2 separate regions of the Homo sapiens genome follow, and region 2 is linked to region 1. The links are contacts of gene promoters, found by promoter capture Hi-C in blood cells and fetal thymus (Javierre and others, 2016). All regions are on one chromosome and are shown on one strand. Each heading gives the region's core, a stretch centred on a gene start or on the middle of the fragment in contact. The rest is flanking DNA. Distances are from core to core; before and after follow the strand shown. Region 1 holds the start of NUP98 (nucleoporin 98 and 96 precursor). Region 2 overlaps STIM1 (stromal interaction molecule 1).

Evidence for each region. Contacts are between HindIII fragments. The CHiCAGO score rates a contact against its expected background, and 5 or more counts as called.
Region 2: a fragment that was not itself captured here is called in contact with the fragment with the promoter of NUP98 in region 1 in 12 of 17 cell types (naive B cells, total CD8 T cells, total CD4 T cells and 9 more); the score reaches 17.9 in naive B cells.

The regions. Positions count from the first base shown.
Region 1 is chr11:3,795,940-3,799,189 of GRCh38, reverse strand. NUP98 (nucleoporin 98 and 96 precursor) reads left to right here and starts at 1,636. Exons shown (of 33, transcript NM_016320.5): 1 at 1,636-1,790. It also overlaps a transcript of PGAP2 not described here. RefSeq lists silencers at 1,620-1,789, 1,870-1,959. The HindIII fragment of the contact is 2,489 bases long and covers 180-2,668 here.
Region 2 is chr11:4,037,312-4,040,561 of GRCh38, reverse strand. All of the region lies in intron 3 of STIM1 (stromal interaction molecule 1), which reads right to left. Among named protein-coding and RNA genes, the nearest start is that of RRM1, 56 kb to the left of the region's middle. The HindIII fragment of the contact is 594 bases long and covers 1,500-2,093 here.

The DNA of each region.
Region 1 (3,250 bases), core at 387-2,886:
TCTAGAAAATGCCCACCTTTCACTCTTGTAATATCAGTTTTCTGCTAATGGGCTAGGCCCCAGAAGGACTTCCAAGAAGAGCCCAAGGCACAGAAAACCGAGGGTAAATAATAGGATACAAAGTGACAAGGCTTTAACAGAGGCCTGCCCAAGCATTAGCTCAACTCGCTGTGAAAGCTTGGCAAATGTATCACTGAGAAGATGGGAACATTTGAAATACCCGTCCTTTAAGAATAAGTAGGGGTTCGGCTGGGCGCGGTGGCTCACGCCTGTAAGGCCAGCACTGTGGGAGGCCGAGGCGGGCGGATCACCTGAGTTCCGGAGTTCGAGACCAGCCTGGCCAACATGGTGAAACCCCATCTCTACTAAAAATACAAAATCAGCTGGGCGCGGCGGCGAGTGCCTGTAATCCCAGCTACTCGGGAGGCTACGACAGGAGACTCTCTTGTACCTGGGAGGCGGAGATTGCAGTGAGCCGAGATCGTGCCACTGCACTCCAGCCTGGGAGAAAGAGGAGACAGAGCAAGACTCCATCTCAAAAAAAAAAAAAAAAATTAGTTCATGGGCGAGGTGGCTCACGTCTGTAATCCCAGCACTTTGGGAGGCCGAGGCGGGTGGATCACTTGAGATCAGGAGTTCGAGACCAGCCTGACCAACACAGTGAAATCCCCGTCTCTACTATAAATACAAAAATTAGCTGGGCCTGGTGGCGGACGCCTGTAATCCCAGCTACTTGGGAGGCTAAGGCGGGAGAATCGCTTGAACCCGGGAGGCAGAGGTTGCAGTGAGCCGAGATTGCGCCAATGCACTCCACCCTAGGCGACAACGCGAGACTTCATCTCAAAAGAAAAAGAAAAAAAAAGAATTAGGGGTTCTCCACGTGCAGCTGGGAAAGACGTTCCAACAATCCTCATTTGTACCAGGCCCTTTGGTGGGCCAGTCCCTTAGGGCATCTCTAATGCTCCTAATGTCCATCCTAGAAATTCAGGGAGGGAAAGAAAGTGCTGGGGCGAGCATGGGTCAGGAGAGAATAGGGTCAGGATTTAGGGCCCTGAAGAAGCCTCGGGCAAACTCTTTGGACAGACAGACCTTCCAAGAGGGCCCTCAGGCTCCGCACGTGGTCTGGGCGGGAAGTGCGGGCAGAGAGACTAGGAAGCCTTCCCAGCAGCGCCGGCGGACCGGGGCAAGGAAAGGGTCGAATAGTTACCATGCCATTCTGGGGCCGTCCCTCTGATTGGCCCGAGCTCCCTCAGCCCGAGTCGCGGCGCTCCAAGGAAGGGGGCGGAGTCTCTATGTTGCGTCACCACCCTTCCCGACACCCCGCCGGTGCTTCCCAATCTAGCCATTCACAAGCCCACTTCGAGAGGCCCTGTGTGACGTCACGACACGCTCCCGCCAACCGCGGCGGCGAGGGGCGGGACTCCACGGCCCTCTCACCGCTCCTACCCTGTGCCTCCCCGAACTCCTTCTGCCCCTCCTCTTCCCTCTCGCCCCTTCCCCCTTCAGTTCGGTTTCAAAAGACGCGTTGCCCAATGAATAACAGGGTCGACCCAGAGTGGCGGCCGCGTCCACCAATTCGCGGACGGCGAGGGCGGAGCGTCCGCAACGAGCCTCTGACGCCGGGCGGCGTGTGACGCAGTCGGGCCCTCTGCGCGCTGCGCCCGAAGCGGCGGTCGGTGGCAGGGGTGGTAGCGGCGGCGGCGACGGTTTCGTGGGGGCCGCGCGCTGCTCTGTGAGCGGCGGGTGGCAGCAGGGGACTCCTGACACTTCCCCTTCCCCACCGAACCGCGGTAAGTCGGGAGCCCGAGCTGCAGCGGCCGAGACCGGCAGGTTTCTCCCCCCTTCCGGGCGGGCGGACGCGCGGGGCGTCTCAGGGCCTCTCCGCTTCGAAGTCTAGCGCCGCTGCGCGCACCTTCTGGCCTGAGAGAGGGGCGGTGCTGAGGACCCGGGGGCCCGGAGCCCGGGAGGCCCGGCTTTGGAGGCCCTGGGAGAGAATGGACATCAGTGGGGTCTAGGCCTGGAGGTCTCCAGTTGCTGCCCACGCGAGTGGGTGTCTGTCTGGTTGTACTCATTCATTCAGTGGTGTAAGGACCCCACGGTGGGCTGGCCTTTCCGGGGTCAGCGCCTTGAAACCCTGAATACGGTCTGCCCCGCACTTCCTTGACCGTCATGTGGGACTGGGCTTTATTTGCCTTGGCTTCTCCATAAGGGAAGTGGGCACCCCGAGGATTAGGGTGAGTCCGAAGTTTGGGAGATTTTTAAGATAATATCTGAGAATAGGAGTCGGTTCGGTGGAGCAAAAGGTTCTTTTCTATTTTCCCACGTGTTCAGTGTAAAGCCAGATGAGGAGACAGATTGAGTTTCTGGATTACTATAGCCATAAGGACTTTAGAAATTGTTTAAGTCAATCCCCCTACCTTACATCAGTTTTGTAGATGGGGAAACCGAGGCCCGGAGTAACAGGCAGGATTAGCCAATGCCAGATTTTTGACAGTCTAAACAGTTTTCTACTACCTCACCCTCCCTGGATATTTCAGTCTCCCATTATTAAGAATTCCCTTTAGGAGGTCGGTGCGGCATGGACATTAGGTAGCTAAACGTAGATGTAGTCTTCACAGCGTTTTCCGTTTAGTTGCTACCAGCTCTGTTCACGGGTAAGGTGGAAGCTTCGTTAGTGGTACCCTAACCTAGAGCTTGAGAACTAAACTTAGAAGATGGTTAAAGAACGTCAGCGTTGTTATGTATCGGAAACAAATCGGTAAAACTACAAGCCATTGTTTCCCTTTCTAAATCTGAATTTTTTGACTTGTGTCAGCTGATGAGGACTCGGAGTCAGTTAGGGATTTATAACAGTACTGGAATAGAAAGCAGGAAATATTGATAAGACTTAGAAAGCCAGGTAGGAGTCCGTTTGTAGTAGTTGTACCTCGGAACTCATGGCTCCTTTCAGGTACAGAATTCAAAGTGAAGTATTATAGTAGAATAAGGTGAGGAAATAAAACTCCGTTTTGGAGGAAGAAGCTAACTGGAATAAAGAGCAAAAAGAGAGCAGTGATCATTCCCTGTGACGGTCTTACAAATTCGAAAAGAAACTCGAGTTAACTGGGTTACAGTATGTTTACCTGGTGGAGGAAGTTAGGGTATTTAAAAACCAAAACTAGAGGTTGGACAGGATAAAGGTACTGGGAAATACTTGGGTAAAATTATTCTTTTTGACTCTTCAGATTTGATGAAATTGAATTAGTTGACA
Region 2 (3,250 bases), core at 547-3,046, 240 kb before region 1:
AGATCTTTGCATTTAGTGTGCTAAGGGCTGTGAAGAGATAGGGGCTGTGGGAACACAGAAGAAGACACCTAACTTAGCCTGTGGTTTTCAGGGAAGAAGACTTAAAGAAATGATTAATTGAGTTTTAAACAGATCAACAAATGAGAAAGATGAATAGAGGAAACAGCATATATGAAAGCACCATGGGATGAAAAAGAACAACATTTCCTAGGAACTGCCAATAAAGCAGTGCACTTCCAGAGGAGATGTGGTGTGGAATGATGGAAAACAAGTAGATCAGAGAAATAAGCATGGACCTTGTATGCTAAACTCATCTAGCACAATGCCTAGTATATAGAAGGTACTCAGTAAATTTTTAACACAGAAATGTTTACATAAATTATAGGAGAAAAACACTACCTTCTAGGGCCAATACCACAGAGGTAGATAAGGAATAACAGAGAACTACAGCATTAAAATATAAATAAACTCTCAAGATATAAAATACCATCAGGGCTGAGCACGGTGGCTTACACCTGTAATCCCAGCACTTTGGAAGGCCGAGGCAGGCAGATCACATGAGGTCAGGAGTTCAAGACCAGCCTGGCCAACATGATGAAACCCCATCTCTACTAAAAATACAAAAAATTAGCTGGGCGTCATCGTGGGCACCTGCAAACCCAGCTACTTGGGAGGCTGAGGCAGGAGAATCACTTGAACCTGGGAGGCAGAGGTTGCAGTGAGCCAAGATCACGCCACTGTACTCCAGCCTGGGCAACAGAGTGAGACACCATCAAAAAGTACAATATAATAAAATAAAATATCATCAGATTTTTATTTATGTGTACATATTACTCTTTTCTCCCAGATAAGGTAATTCATTTTGAGATTACAGATGGACATTTAATTTCAATACATCTGACTAACATCTCACAGATAAACATGAAAAAAAAATCACTGACATTTTCTTTCTTTCGTTTTTTTTTTTTTTTTTTTTGAGATGGAGTCTTACTCTGTTGCCCAGGCTGGAGTGCAGTGGCATGATCTCAGCTCACTGCAACCTCTGCCTCCTGGGTTCAAGCAATTATCTGCCTCAGCCTCCCGAGTAGCCGTGATTACAGGTGCCCGCCACCATGCCCAGCTAATTTTTGTATTTTTAGTAGAGACGGGGTTGCACCATGTTGGCCAAGCTGATCTTGAACTCCTGACCTTGTGATCCACCTGCCTCAGCCTCCCAAAGTGATGGGATTACAGACATGAGCCACCACGCCCAGCTTCTTTCTTTTTTTCAGAGATAGGGTTTCATTCTGTCACCCAGGCTGAAGTACAGTGGCATGACCATAGCTCACTGTAGCCTCAACCTCTGGGGCTCAAGTGATCCTCTCACAGGGCTGGAATTGCAGGCATGAGTCACCACACAGAGCCAACATTTTCTATAATTTTTTTTCATCAAAAATTACTAAGCTTTGGATATCTTATTCTGTTGAGTCTCAAATGAGACAGCAGTTGTGATCTAAGCTTATCGCTACTCCTACACAAGCTGAAGGGTTATCCGACCAATAGGAAAGCCAGTATTTATTCTTTCAAAATAACATGATTACTATTTATTGCTATACAGGTATTTACTTGTAACATTTTTAACAGTATCTTTATTTCTCCAACTTCCATTTGAGAATATTTCTTACACCCAGAAATTTGATGCCCTAACTTGTTTGTTTCATGTATGAGAGAAAAATGGGAAAACTCTGAAAAATGTAAGCAAAGACCTCGTCAGATCTGGAACCAAGTGAAAGATACATAGCAGTAGAGCTAGGCTGGGCCAAGAATAATGGTATATGAAGAACAACGGCCCAAGCAAAAGAAGATTCAGCTGACACTTCTGTTTCAGGGTAAGCTGAAGTACCAGAGATGGAATTTACCCTCCCTCCTGAATTAAAATTACCCCTCCCAAAAAAGACAACATATATGAAATAATGGTTTTCAGGACACTGGACATCAGCCTACAAAGGACAATGACTCTTGAGAGATAGGAAACAAATGAGGGAAGTTATACAATTGCCCCAGCTTATGGCCTTGAATTTCCAAGCCACAGTGCAAGGATTAAAATCTAAGCTTGAGAGAGGGAAATGAAAATACACTACTGGAAGCTTCTTTTTTTTTTTATTATTATACTTTAAGTTTTAGGGTATATGTGCTACTGGAAGCTTCTTATACTACATGTGACATGTTATAATATATCTTGAAAGTAGGCCCAGTGCAGTGGCTCAGATCTGTAACACCAGTACTTTGGGAAGCCGAGGTAGGCGGATCACCTGAAGTCAGGAGTTCGAGACCAGCCTGACCAACATGGCAAAACCCCATCTCTATTAAAAATACAAAAATTAGCTGGGCGTAGTGGCATGCACCTGTTATTCCAGCTACTCAGGAGGCTGGGGCACGAGAATCTCTTGAACCCAAGAGACAGAGGTTGCAGTAAGCCAAGATCACACCACTGCACTCCAGCCTGGGTTACAAAGCAAGACTCTGTCTCAAAAAAAAAAAAAAGACTGTGATGAGTTAAAGATACATATCTTTTATCTCCTAAAGCAACCACTAAAATACCAGTTATATCTAATAAGCCAACAAAGAAAATACAATTGAATTATAAAAAATACTGAATTAACCCAAAAGAAAGCAGAAAAGGTAGGAAAAGGAATTAAAGAACAGATGGGACAAACGGAAAACAAATAGCAAGAAAATGGACTAACCTAAATTATCTTATATTAATAATCATATCAATCATATTTGATTAATCATATTAATAATCACACCAAACGTAAATGGTCTAAATAATGCAATTAACAGATATTGTCACATTGCAAAATATACATATATATATATAGGACCCAACTATATGCACCTACAGGAAATGTACTTTAAATATAAAAATACAAATAGATTAAATGTAGAGGGATGGAAAAAGACATTCCAAACTAACAACAGTCAAAAGACAGCTATATTTTTATCAAAGTAGATTTCAGAGCAAAGATTACCACGAAGGATAAAGCAGTTCATTTCATAATGTTGAAGGGGTCAGTTAATCACTAAGAAATAATCATCCTAAATCTTTATGCACCTAGTAACAGAGCTTCAAAATACGTGAACCAGAAACTACAAGGAAAAATAGGCAAATCCACAGTTATAACTGGAAACTTAAATACTCCTCTCTAACAATTGATAGAACAAGTATGCAGGCTGGATGCAGTGGCTCACGCCTGTAATTCCAGTACTT